Linked DNA regions of Homo sapiens: regions 1, 2, 3 and 5 are each linked to region 4. Evidence: promoter capture Hi-C in 16 types of primary human blood cells and fetal thymus (Javierre and others, 2016). All regions are on one chromosome and are shown on one strand. Each heading gives the region's core, a stretch centred on a gene start or on the middle of the fragment in contact. The rest is flanking DNA. Distances are from core to core; before and after follow the strand shown.

Region 1 (2,700 bases), core at 60-2,559, 260 kb before region 4:
TGTTACATCCCATGGATTCCAGGTGACTAAAGAATACTTATTTCTTAGGATATGTTTTATTGATAATAACAATTAAAATTTCAGATATCTTTCATAAGCAAATCAGTGGTCTTTTTACTTCATGTTTTAATGCTAAAATATTTTCTTTTATAGATAGTCAGAACATTATGCCTTTTTCTGACTCCAGCAGAGAGAAAATGCTCCAGGTTATGTGAAGCAGAATCATCATTTAAATATGAGTCAGGGCTCTTTGTACAAGGCCTGCTAAAGGTATAGTTTCTAGTTATCACAAGTGAAACCACTTTTCTAAAATCATTTTTGAGACTCTTTATAGACAAATCTTAAATATTAGCATTTAATGTATCTCATATTGACATGCCCAGAGACTGACTTCCTTTACACAGTTCTGCACATAGACTATATGTCTTATGGATTTATAGTTAGTATCATCAGTGAAACACCATAGAATACCCTTTGTGTTCCAGGTGGGTCCCTGTTCCTACATGTCTAGCCTCAGGACTTTTTTTTTTTTAACACATGCTTAAATCAGGTTGCACATCAAAAATAAGATCATTTCTTTTTAACTAAATAGATTTGAATTTTATTGAAAAAAAATTTTAAACATCTTTAAGAAGCTTATAGGATTTAAGCAATTCCTATGTATGTGTACTAAAATATATATATTTCTATATATAATATATATTAGAAAAAAATTGTATTTTTCTTTTATTTGAGTCTACTGTCAAGGAGCAAAACAGAGAAATGTAAATTAGCAATTATTTATAATACTTAAAGGGAAGAAAGTTGTTCACCTTGTTGAATCTATTATTGTTATTTCAATTATAGTCCCAAGACGTGAAGAAATAGCTTTCCTAATGGTTATGTGATTGTCTCATAGTGACTACTTTCTTGAGGATGTAGCCACGGCAAAATGAAATAAAAAAATTTAAAAATTGTTGCAAATACAAGTTATATTAGGCTTTTGTGCATTTTCAATAATGTGCTGCTATGAACTCAGAATGATAGTATTTAAATATAGAAACTAGTTAAAGGAAACGTAGTTTCTATTTGAGTTATACATATCTGTAAATTAGAACTTCTCCTGTTAAAGGCATAATAAAGTGCTTAATACTTTTGTTTCCTCAGCACCCTCTCATTTAATTATATAATTTTAGTTCTGAAAGGGACCTATACCAGATGCCTAGAGGAAATTTCAAAACTATGATCTAATGAAAAAATATTTAATAGTTCTCCATGCAAATACAAATCATATAGTTTTCCAGAAAATACCTTTGACATTATACAAAGATGATTATCACAGCATTATAATAGTAAAAAAATGGAAATAGCCTCTTTCTTCTGTTCTGTTCATAGCACAGTGCCTCATACGCAGTAGGTTATTATTACATGGTAACTGGCTACCCCAACTGATTAGGAAAGAAGTAAATTTGTTTTATAAAAATACATACTCATTGAGGTGCATAGAATAATTAAGAAATTAAAAGACACTTGTAATTTTGAATCCAGTGAATACCCACTGTTAATATTTGGTATATCTCTTTCTAGTCTTTTTTTCCCTTTTGCATGTATTTTCTTTAAGACTCCCACCCCCACTGGATCATCTCTGCATGTTCTAATCTGCTTTTTTCACAGCAGATTCTAAGCCTCTTTGAATATCAACACAAACTTCAACAACTTCATCTATAGATGCCAAATAATAAATTCATTTTTATTTACTTAACCACTTCCTTTGGATGCTTAGGTCATTCTGATGTTTTGCTATTGAAACCAATGCTATACTGAACACTTCTGTCACTAAAACTTTGCACACACTCATGAATAGCTTCTTAGGATAAATTTTTAGAGATGGATTTGCTAAATCAGAGACCATTTTTTAAAATTAAAAAACAATTATTCATATCGTTTGGCATGTAAGACAGTAAATTTTCCTTTTATTTTGACAGGATTCAACTGGAAGCTTTGTGCTGCCTTTCCGGCAAGTCATGTATGCTCCATATCCCACCACACACATAGATGTGGATGTCAATACTGTGAAGCAGATGCCACCCTGTCATGAACATATTTATAATCAGCGTAGATACATGAGATCCGAGCTGACAGCCTTCTGGAGAGCCACTTCAGAAGAAGACATGGCTCAGGATACGATCATCTACACTGACGAAAGCTTTACTCCTGATTTGTACGTAATGCTCTGCCTGCTGGTACTGTAGTCAAGCAATATGAAATTGTGTCTTTTACGAATAAAAACAAAACAGAAGTTGCATTTAAAAAGAAAGAAATATTACCAGCAGAATTATGCTTGAAGAAACATTTAATCAAGCATTTTTTTCTTAAATGTTCTTCTTTTTCCATACAATTGTGTTTACCCTAAAATAGGTAAGATTAACCCTTAAAGTAAATATTTAACTATTTGTTTAATAAATATATATTGAGCTCCTAGGCACTGTTCTAGGTACCGGGCTTAATAGTGGCCAACCAGACAGCCCCAGCCCCAGCCCCTACATTGTGTATAGTCTATTATGTAACAGTTATTGAATGGACTTATTAACAAAACCAAAGAAGTAATTCTAAGTCTTTTTTTTCTTGACATATGAATATAAAATACAGCAAAACTGTTAAAATATATTAATGGAACATTTTTTTACTTTGCATTTTATATTGTTATTCACTTCTTATTTT
Region 2 (2,700 bases), core at 116-2,615, 420 kb before region 4:
CTGCATGACACTTGCACTGGTGTCGCAGTACTTACCCACGTGCCCTATCCACTCAACAAACATCTCATGACCAACCATTCTTATGTCACATTATAGAGTGACCAGCTATCCTAGCTTGCCCAGCACTGAGAGGTTTACCACGATGCCAGACTTGCAGTGCTAAAACTAGGAAAATCCCAGGCAAAATGGGATGAATTGGTTATCCTAACCAACCTGTGAAGAGGTCTGGGTGTGCAAACCTGGAGTGCAGGAGACATATGGAGCTATAAAGTGAGATCCTAAATGCAAAACTTTCTCTGAAAGTCACTTTATTTCACTTCTTGAGCACAATCCCATGCCCTCTATCCTAAGTGTGCCTAAACCCAAATGTGGTCTGTCCATGCAAACTCTTAAAATAACCATGCCTGATACTCTATATTACACTCCCACCTGTCAGCTGGGAATCTGCCAGAACCTGGGTAGCAGGTTTTCCCAGTCATCTGCAGGTCTGCATCATCCAATCTAATACCCTGCCTGAGATAGAGGAGGAATTGAAGCTTAACGATGCATCCTTTAACTAACTTTGCTCTTTGATCCACCTAATACCTAAATCTCTTGAGAACAAATTAAGACTTTATGAAGTCTTGAGTTGTTGTTGCTTTGTTATTGGCCTCTAATTCCAAACCCAGTAAATCTCTTATCAGCCTAATGGCAATATCTCAACTCTGGTACATGGTTCTTGATCTTCTCTTGTAACTTTACAAGTCTACATGCTGCTGACAATACAAATAGGGAAGGCTGTTGACTGAGGGAACACTTAATCTAAAATTTATATTCTGAAGTATGTGAAACCTGATCCTGGTCTCTGTTTCTCACTCAGAGTTGACCACAGGGTTCAAGTGGGCTGGACAATGGGGCCTCCAGCTGTGGTAAACTACAAAACCAGCATCTCCCACTGATCCAGGCCCATGTTGGGTTCCAGGAGCAGCATCTCCAAGCATCTAAATCTCTTGGACACTTTTTATCAGGAGGAAATCTAAACGTTTACAGTGCCAAAACCAAGATACATTATTTGGCCGGAATACTGAGCATCCAGATGGATGCAAACCAAAAACTCTGCCTACCAGATGACCCCCTCTGGGAGTCAAGAGTCTGTTTTGGAGTGGTCTTATGCTGAGATTTAGCCTGTTCAAAATAAAATGAGATGCAGCAGCCATACAGGGCCTTTGCCATGCACTATGGGTGATGGCTGCCTCCTGCATCAACTGACCTTTGCCAAGACTGTCACTTCCTTGTTTTAGCATCCCCAATAAATGCCACCTCTTTTCCTCATGCAAGCACTGAATAAACTGAAAAATAAAACAAAGGAATGACAGATTATGGTTAGATTGAAAGATGTAGCTTAGTGAGCAAGAATACGTATGCCTGAAAGTCAGACATCACATCAGGCAGATTTGCACACTTCTCCCAAGAGAACTGGAGAAGACTTCCTCTTGGCGGAAGAGTGGAGAATTAATATTTTCTGCAGCCTTCCAAAGAGAAGAGGGAAAAAAAGAGCAGGGCTACTTGCACACAGTTTGCTCTTCTTGAATTTGCCAATCGGATAAATCACTCTGATCTTCACTCACATCTTTATGAATGAGGAGGTTGAAGGGTAGGTAGGGGTTAGACTAATGGATTTTCCCCCACTTGAAGAAAACAACATATATGCCTATTAAGTCCAGCTCCAGGCAAGAAGTACTCTTGTTCCGCTAAGACAAGGACACACGAATCAGGATTTTCAGAAAAAAGTGAAGCTCAGTTGAGTGGTGAAAACTGCAAGTGCTCTAGGAAGAGAAGGGAGCAACGGGAAGGGATGATACGAACGGGGCAGGCTTCTGAGACAGGGAGACACCTCTGGCAGAAGGAGAGGAATGAGAATAATTTGGATAGCAAATAAAGGAAAGGACGATATTCCTGAAAAAGGAAAAAGCCAACCAGAATGGAGAAGTGCAGTGTGAAGGAGAGAGTGCACATTTCCGACTCATAGGGGTGAGAATCAGTGGAGTATGTAGTGTTTCCACTTATCAGAGAAGCTAATGGCCTCAAACTGAAAGCAATAGGGAGCCTTAGAGGTTCCTTGGCCAGAAGTAATAGGCTTAAACTGGGGTGAATGCATTTGGGAACCAAAATTACAACTAGTGAAAGCGTTTGGTTAAATGCATAATCAAGCTTTCTATCATACCTAGAGTTTTCATATCTATGCAAACCAAAATTGTGACTCCATTCTCTGTAAAAAACACAAAGTTGTTATGAAAAACACTTGTTACCAGACATTTGTATTTTCCAAGGAAATTAAAATTTCTGGCAAGACGAAGCTTTTAAACTTGCTTTGGTTGGTGGCACAAAGCCACTGTCGGTACATGGTGGGTGCTCTGTGTCCGCCAGAGGTGCCCGTGAGGAAGGTCCCTCTGGCTAAGTGCTAAAAGCAGCTCGGATGAGGAGAGGCAGGAGCAGAGACAGTCATCTGCCACACCTTTGAAGGTGCCCTCTGGGTACTGTGCTCTCAAAGATCCCTCAGGAGATGCTTCAGGGCTGCCCAAAATATCCCAGGCACGATTTACTGGGTCAAAAGTTTAGAGTACATCCTGAGGTTTGAAGCATTATTTAAATTCAACCTTCTGTCATTAGACCAATGAGACCTTTCTCAAACACCCTCTCCCTCTAGCTGAGGAAAAACTG
Region 3 (2,700 bases), core at 196-2,695, 510 kb after region 4:
TGTTTTTTTTTTTTTTTCCTTCTCTCCCCTTTAAGTCCAATGAGCTGGGTTTTTTTTTTTTTTTTTTTTTTTTTTTTTAAAGACAAAGTCTTACTATGTTACCCAGGCTGGAGTGCAGTGGTGCCATCTTGGTTTATTGCAGCCTCAACCTCCTAGGCTCAAGCAATCCTCCCACCTCAGCCTCTTGAGTAGCTGGGACTACAGGTGCATGCTAATTTTTATATTTTCTGTGGAGATCGGGTCTTGCCGTGTTACCCAGGCTGGTCTCGAACTCCTGGGCTCAAGTGATCTGCCCATCTCAGCCTCCCAAAATGCTGGGACTACTGGAGTGAGCCACCGCACCCAGCCTGAGCTCCATTCTCTTTAATTCCATGTCACATTGAATATTACAAAGTGCATAATATTCTTCACTGTATTGCAGGCTTCTTGACAACAGTGTCTATGCCATTTGTTTTTATGTGCCTGACATATAGTAGGTGCTGATAGAACATTTGCAGAACAAATGTTCATTGCATTCTCTTTTGTTACATGCAACAAAATAATTTGAAGTCAGTAAGGGGCGTCTGATATGAAAGATATTGGTGAAAAGAATAAGTGCTTATACTTTATGCTTTAAGACACAGAGAGCTTCGTTTGTTTAATAAATGTGGGTAAAAATAATTGACATGGTGATGATAATGGGACATCCACCTTGGAGGCAGCATAACGAGGCACAAGAGCACTGGTTTCAGGGTAAGCCAGAATTCTAGGCATAGCTGTGCCATACAACCTTGCCGTGGTACCCAGGGCCCTCCCCTTTCTGAAGTTTATTTTCTCATCTTGTAGAATGGGGAGACAGGATGAGATCATCTTACATGAATTTCAGTTCATTTAAGCTCTGAAACTGTATCATCTATCGTAGCTCCAAGTAGGGATTGCCTCTCACTGCCAAAAAGCCCCAACCCCTCAGCCACATATGTAGGTACCCAAACAGTCCTTGTACCCTAAATCCTTTTCTCCTTTCATGCTTATCTCCCTCTTCCTCTGATCCTGTAGGTTTTGCCTTGAAGCTTCAGAGTAGTTTGAACTCAGTTTTTCCTACAGGTTGGTTTTATTTACCTCCTCACTGCCTGCCTGTGATCCCTGCATGTCCCTCATACAAGTCTTAGCCCCTCTCCAGCCAACCCGTACTTCCAACTGGCCTTGATAAGATTTGAATTCCTCATTATACTTTTCCCTATCTTCATTTTGTGTGTGTGTGAAAGCTATATTGCCATAAAAGTCTGCAGGAATTTGACCATCAGCTCACATCTCTGTTTTCTATTTTCTCAGAACTCTCCCACCTTTAATATGATAATAGTAATAAGTACTGTTTATTGAGGGTTTACTATGTGCCGAATATTGTGATGCCAAGATGGTTGTCCTATCACCCGCTTACTGTTACCACATCAATCACATCTCTAAGGACTTACATCTCTAATCCTTGTACCATTCCTGAAGGGTGGCTATATCAGTTGTTGAGATGGAGAAAGAAGAAACTGACTGTACGATTGTTTAAATAACTTGCCAAGAGTGTCTGACTCCAAAGCCAATGCTATTTCCAAAGCAAATGTAACGCTGTCTTGCTACATTTCAGCATATGTAGATCTAGATCAATTTTTTGTTGTTTTATGTCAGCATTCATTTTGTTTCAGAAACAATATCATAGTACCAGTAAGAAAACCCACACTTTAAAGACATATCAACTTACTGTTTTTCTTATTTACTCTTCTACTCTTTGTTTATATTCATACATATTTTAAAGAGTATGATTCTAATGTAGATTTAGTCTTTATTCTAAAAATAACAACTCTGTAAGCTTTTTCTTTGTTGTCCTCCTCCTTTCTGTCATTTTAATGGCTGCATAATTTCCATCAGATTGGTTTAATCATAGTTTTATTTTTTTGTTTTTTGGGTTTTTTGTTTTTGTTTTCTATGATGGAGTTTCTTTCTTGTTGCCCAGGCTGGAGTGCAATGACACAATCTCGGCCCACTGCAACCTCCGCCTCCCGAGTTCAAGCGATTCTCCTGCCTCAGTCTCCCAAGTAGCTGGGATTACAGGAACCCGCCACCAGGTCCAGCTAATTTTTGTATTTTTAGTAGAGACAGGGTTTCACCATGTTGGCCAAGCTGGTCTTGAACTCCTGACCTCAGGTGATTCGCCTGCCTCAGCCTCCCAAAATGCTGGGATTACAGGCATGAGCCACCACACCCAGCCAGTTTATCATATTTTTAAATAAGTTTTTGCTACTGTAAAACATTTAGATTATTTCCATTTTATACTGAGATAAATTATGTTATAGTAATGATATTTATGCACTTTAAAAAGATTAATGGTTAATATGTTGGCTTTTAAATAACTTTTTAATTGTGGAAATATTGAAATATTCTCAAGAGACTGGAAGGAAACTATATGTACCTGTAACTCAGTTTCAACAATGATCAACATTTTCCCATCTTGTTTCATTGAATCCCCTACTTTTTTTTGAAAACATTAAAGAAAATTTCAAATTTCTTGAAATTTCACTTTTAAATACTTCAGAATAGACTTGTAATGGATAAGGACTTTCTCCTAAAGTCATCTCATACTCTGTGATCTCCCTGTACTCTCTAGGTTCAAATTTCCTGATCATCACTAGACCTTTTTCACATTTGGTTTGTGTAAATTAGGATCTAAATATG
Region 4 (2,700 bases), core at 189-2,688:
AAAACTATATGTTGGGTTCAATATACACTACCGGGTGATGGGCAGACTAAAATCTCAGCTTTCACCACTATACAATTCATCAATGCAACCAAGAACCACTTGGACCCCAAAAGCCATATGAAATATAAATACATATAAGACCTATATTTTATATATTATATAATTATATATTTTATAAAATATATAATATATTTATATAACTAATATATAATATGTTATTATTAATTATTTATATAATATAGGCCTTAAAATCTAAAAATGACCAGTTTTAGAGAACTTTTCTAAAGAATTATAGTTAAGATAATCCATTAACCAGAACTTGTAGACTTGTAGGGCATTTGGCATCAGAACTTGGTTTTTCTGCCTAGTTGTTTTTTTTGTTTTGTTTTTTGTTTTTTGTTTTTTTTTTTGGAGACAGAGACTCACTTCTTCACCCAGGCTGGAGTGCAGTGGTGTGATCTCGGCTCGCTGCAAACTCTGCCTCCCATGTTCAAGCACGTGGGCCACCACGCCTGGCTAACTTTTGTATTTTTAGTAGAGATGAGGTTTCACCATGTTGCCCAGGGTGGTCTTGAACTCCTGACCTCAAGTGATCTGCCCACCTCAGCCTCCCAAAGTGCTGGGATTACAGGTGTGAGCCACTGCGTCCAGCCTCTGACTAGTTTTTAAAAGATATTTTTATTGCATTTATCCAAGAAAACACATCATATTGCAATGCTTTGAGAAACAAAAAGATCTGTTCTCATTTTACTCTTAACAATATTAATGGTTGCAGGGAGCCGAAGGCTCGTGGGACGTGAGCCACTCAGCATTCCACTGGAGGCTATATGATCAAACAGCAAACTGTTTATTATGAATGCAGGATGTGGGCAAACTCACGACTGCTCCTGCCCACAGAAGGTTTGCTGGAGGCAATCACTCCCTGGCACCGAGGTTATCTACTGCGACATCTAGAGAATGCAGTGTTGCATGCCTACTCTGGACCGGGCAGCTGACCCCTTCTTCCATCCTCCTTCTCACTATCTCTCTTGCCTAATAAATACAGAGGGCTGTGTAAAGCTCAGGGCCCTTGCCCACTAGAGGCAAGGTGCCCCCGACCCCTTCTTCCAAATATACTCTTTTGTCTTTGTCTTTTATTCCCGCATTCGTCCCCCTTTGTTCAGTCCCCTAGGTCCGTGCGGGTTACAAGTGGCACCCTGACTAGCCACAGAATCGAGTGCTCTACAAATGGTTCTTTAAAATCCAGAGCCGAGTAATTAACATTCTTTTATGAAAACACACTTATTAACTTTCAAAGAAAATCTTGTAATGGTTTATTTAAAAAATAACTAAAAACCATTATAGTACCTGAGATAAAGCAGTCTTCAGACTGAGTCACAAAGCTGTTGGGAACCCCCACCCCCACCAACATTCTGATGCCCATCTGACAGTGATGTCATAATGTCCTAGTTAGACACAGGACCTGCTGGGCCACAGAAAGGAGGCTCTGGGTAGACGCACTAGATTACTGGATAAATCACTTCAATTTCCCAATGAATTTTATATTGTTTATTTTTATACCTGGAGTTTTTTCCTTAAAAAGTAGCACTTTGAAGCCTACTATTGAAGGTGAGAGAGCATTTAAAACTTTTATAAAAATAGTAGGTAAGAAGGATGACCCATAATCATGAAAAATTGGTATGTGGCAGTTTTCTACAGGAGGATATAAACTTTATTGTTGGAGCTATGGTATGTTTTAGATTTTAAATCTCTGCCTCTAATCCTTTGTGAAAAAAATGCAGTTAGAAAAAGAAAGCAGTAAAAGAAATCAACATATTTCTGATCTATGGTGTGTGATACTTTTTTTTAGCATTGCCTAATGTGCTACCTTTAAATGAAGATGTTAATAAGCAGGAAGAAAAGAATGAAGATCATACTCCCAATTATGCTCCTGCTAATGAGAAAAATGGCAATTATTATAAAGATATAAAACAATGTAAGTCTTTAAAGTGAATAGAAATGTATATGCAAAAGTTGATTATCCTGGTTTCACTTAAGTGTCCTTTTTAAATTTCCATCATTTCCCCCTGTATTTGTTGGGTATTTTATTTCTACTTCTGTGACCTGCCTGTTCATACCCTTGCCCATTTTTCCATTAGGTTGTATTTTCATTTCTTTTTAAGGGCTCTTTTTATGTAGAATATATTAATCCTTTTTACGGTAAAAGTAATAAATGTTTTCTGCCAAGATGCTGCTTATCTTTAAGGCTTATTTTATTTTATTGTATCGTATTCAGTTTTTGAGACAGAGTCTTGCTCTGTCACCCAGGCTGGAGTGCAGTGGCACGACCATGGCTCACTGCAGCCAGCCTTGACCTCCCAGGGTTCAAGCAGTCCTACCACCTCAGCCTTCCGAGTAGCTGGAACTATAGGCACATGCCATCACACCAAGCTAATTTTTGTATTTTTTTTGTAGAAACGGTGTTTCATCATGTTGCCCAGGCTGGTCTCCAACTCCTGGGCTCAAGCGATTCACCCATCTCACCCTCCCAAAGTGCTAGGATTACAGGTGCGAGCCACCACACCTGGCCAAGCCTGTTTAAGTATCTTTAATAACTGAGAAGATTTCAAGTTTTATAATATCAGTTCTGTTTATTTATTTCTTTATAATCTCTGCATTTTGTGTCTTGCCTAAGCAGGCTTTATCCAGTCCAAAATATTG
Region 5 (2,700 bases), core at 47-2,546, 270 kb after region 4:
CATAGAACAAGGGAAAATTTTTACAAATCATGTATCTGATGACACCTCTATCTAGCATATATAAGGAAATGTTACAACTCAGTAATCAAAAACAATCTAGTTTAAAAAATGAGCAAATGAACTAAGTAAACATTTCCCCCAAAGAATATGGCCAATAAGCATATGAAAGGAACCTCAACATCATTAGCCATCAAACAAATACAAATCAAAACCATAGTGAGACACCGCTTCATACCCATTAGGAATGGCTATAATAGAAAAAGAGATAATAACAAGTGAGGATGTGAAAAACTGGAACCCTCACATGCTGCTCATATGCTGCTCTTATTATATTACATAGAAATGTAAAACAGTACCAATTCTTTGAAAGTCTGATAGAATTCAGCTGTGGCTCCATCTGGTCCTGGACTTTTTGTTGGCAATTTTTTTTTTTTAACCATTTCAATCTCACTGCTCGTTAATGGTCTGTTCAGAGTTTCTATTTCTTCCTACTTTAATCTAGGATTGTATATTTCCAGGAATCTATCCGTCTCCTCTAAGTTTTCTAGTTTGTGCGTGTAAAGGTGCTCACTGTAAGCTTGGTCTTTTGTATTTCTGTGGTATTGGTTGTAGTATCTCCCATTTTGTTTCTAATTGAGCTTATTTGGATCTTTTCTCTTCTTTTCTTGATTAATCTTGCTATTGGTCTATCAATTTTGTTTATCTTTTCAAAGAACCAGCTTTTTGCTTCATTTATCTTTCAATTTTTTGTTTCAATTTAATTTAGTTCTGCTCTGATGTTTGTAATTTCCTTTTCTTTTGGTGGGTTTGGGTTTTGTTTGTGCTTGTTGCTCTAGTTCCTTGAGGTGTAACGTTAGATTGTCTATTTGTGTTCTTTCAGACTTTTTGATGTAGGCACTTAATGCTCTGAATGTTCCTCTAGGCACTGCTTTTGCTGTATCCCAGAGGTTTTAATAGGTTGTGTCATTATTATTGTTCAGTTCAAAGAATTTTTAAATTTCCATCTTGATTTCATTGTTGACCTAAAGATCATTCAGGAGCAAATTATTTAATTTCCATGTATCTGCATGGTTTTTAAGGTTCCTTTTGGAGTTGATTTCCAGTTTTATTCCACTGTGGTCTGAGAATACTTGATATAATTTTGATTTTCTTAAATTTATTGAGACTTGTTTTGTGGCCTATCATATGGTCTGTCTTGCAGGACGTCCCATGTGCTGATGAACAGAATGTATATTCTGCAGTTGTTGGGTAGAATGTTCTATAAATATCTGTTGAGTCCATTTGTTCTAGGGTATAATTTAAATCCATTGTTTCTTTGTTGACTTTCTGACCCGTCTAGTGCTGTCAATGGAGTATTGAAGTCCCCCACTATTAATTGTATTGCTGTCTATCTCATTTGTTAGGTCTAGTGGTAATTGTTTTTTACATTTGGGAGCTCTAGTGTTAGGTGCATATAGATTTAGTACTGTGATATTTTCCTGTTTGATTAGTCCTTTTATCATTACATAATGTCCTTCTTTGTCTTTTTCAATTGTTGTTAAAGTCTGTTTTGTCTAATATAAGAATAGCTACTCCTACTTGCTTTTGGGACCATTTGCATGGAATAACTTTTTCCACCCTTTTACCTTAAGTTTATGTGAGACCTTATGCATTAGGTGAGTCACTTGAAGATGGGAGATACTTGGTTGGTGAATTCTTATCCATTCCGTTATTCTGTATATTTAAGTGGAGCATTTGGGCTGTTTATATTCAATGTTAGTATTGAGATATGTGGTATTGTTCTATTCATTGTGCTAGTTATTGCCTGAATACCTTAGTTTTTCATTTCCATTGTGTTGTTTTATAGGCCCTGTGAGATTTATGATTTAAGGAGTTTCTACTTTGGTGTATTTTGAGGTTTTGTTTCAAGATTTAGAACTCCCTTTAACTGCTCTTGTAGTGCTGCCTTGGTAGTGGTGAATTCTCTCAGCATTTCTCTGAAAATGACTTTATCTTTGCTTCATTTATGAAGCTTAGTTTCAATGGATACAAAATTCTTGGCTGATAATTATTTTAAGGAGTCTAAAGGTAGGACTCCAATTCCTTCTAGCTTGTAGGGTTTCTGCTAAGAAATCTGCTATTGATCTGATAGGTTTTCCTTTATAGGTTACCTGATGCTTTTGCCTCATAGCTCTTAAGATTCTTTCCTCTGTCTTGACTTTAGATAATCTTATGACTATGCCTAAGTGATGATCTTTTTGTGATGCATTTCCCAGTTGTAATCTTTGACATTCTTTCTTTTCTTTTCTTTTTTTTTTTTTTTTTTTTGGAGATGGAGTCTCACTCTGTCACCCAGGATGGAATGCAGTGGCATGATCTTAGCTCACTGCAACCTCCACCTCCCAGGTTCAAGTGATTTTTCTGCCTTAGCCTCCCAAGTTGCTGGGACTACAGGTGCGTGCCACCATGCCCAGCGGATTTTTGTATTTTTAGTAGAGACAAGGTTTTACCTTATTGGCCAGGCTGCTCTTGAACTCCTGACCTCATGTTCCGCCCACCTCGGCCTCCCAAAGTGCTGGGATTACAGGTGTGAGCCACCGTGCTCAGCCATGACATTCTTATATTTGGATGTCTACATCTCTAGCAAGGCCAGGGAAGTTTTCCTTGATTATTCCCTCAAATACATTTTCCAAACTTACAGGTTTGTCTTCTTCCTCAGGA

The links. The method cuts DNA at HindIII sites, captures the fragments that hold promoters and counts their contacts. A CHiCAGO score of 5 or more calls a contact.
Region 1: a fragment that was not itself captured here is called in contact with the fragment with the promoter of EQTN in region 4 in 1 of 17 cell types (total B cells); the score reaches 5.7 in total B cells.
Region 2: a fragment that was not itself captured here is called in contact with the fragment with the promoter of EQTN in region 4 in 1 of 17 cell types (naive B cells); the score reaches 5.1 in naive B cells.
Region 3: a fragment that was not itself captured here is called in contact with the fragment with the promoter of EQTN in region 4 in 1 of 17 cell types (endothelial precursors); the score reaches 5.6 in endothelial precursors.
Region 5: a fragment that was not itself captured here is called in contact with the fragment with the promoter of EQTN in region 4 in 1 of 17 cell types (megakaryocytes); the score reaches 5.4 in megakaryocytes.

Annotation. Positions count from the first base shown.
Region 1 is chr9:27,556,061-27,558,760 of GRCh38, reverse strand. It overlaps C9orf72 (C9orf72-SMCR8 complex subunit), which reads left to right. Exons shown (of 11, transcript NM_018325.5): 7 at 154-270; 8 at 1,965-2,200. Among named protein-coding and RNA genes, the nearest start is that of C9orf72, 16 kb to the left of the region's middle. The HindIII fragment of the contact is 1,343 bases long and covers 638-1,980 here.
Region 2 is chr9:27,716,359-27,719,058 of GRCh38, reverse strand. The region is part of intron 1 of LOC124902135; the gene reads right to left. Among named protein-coding and RNA genes, the nearest start is that of C9orf72, 140 kb to the right of the region's middle. The HindIII fragment of the contact is 1,654 bases long and covers 539-2,192 here.
Region 3 is chr9:26,787,176-26,789,875 of GRCh38, reverse strand. No RefSeq gene overlaps it. Among named protein-coding and RNA genes, the nearest start is that of CAAP1, 100 kb to the left of the region's middle. The HindIII fragment of the contact is 788 bases long and covers 1,052-1,839 here.
Region 4 is chr9:27,295,888-27,298,587 of GRCh38, reverse strand. EQTN (equatorin) reads left to right here and starts at 1,438. Exons shown (of 8, transcript NM_020641.3): 1 at 1,438-1,608; 2 at 1,850-1,975. The coding sequence starts at 1,533. The HindIII fragment of the contact is 8,347 bases long and covers 1-2,700 here.
Region 5 is chr9:27,025,051-27,027,750 of GRCh38, reverse strand. All of the region lies in intron 12 of IFT74 (intraflagellar transport 74), which reads right to left. Among named protein-coding and RNA genes, the nearest start is that of LRRC19, 21 kb to the right of the region's middle. The HindIII fragment of the contact is 1,434 bases long and covers 580-2,013 here.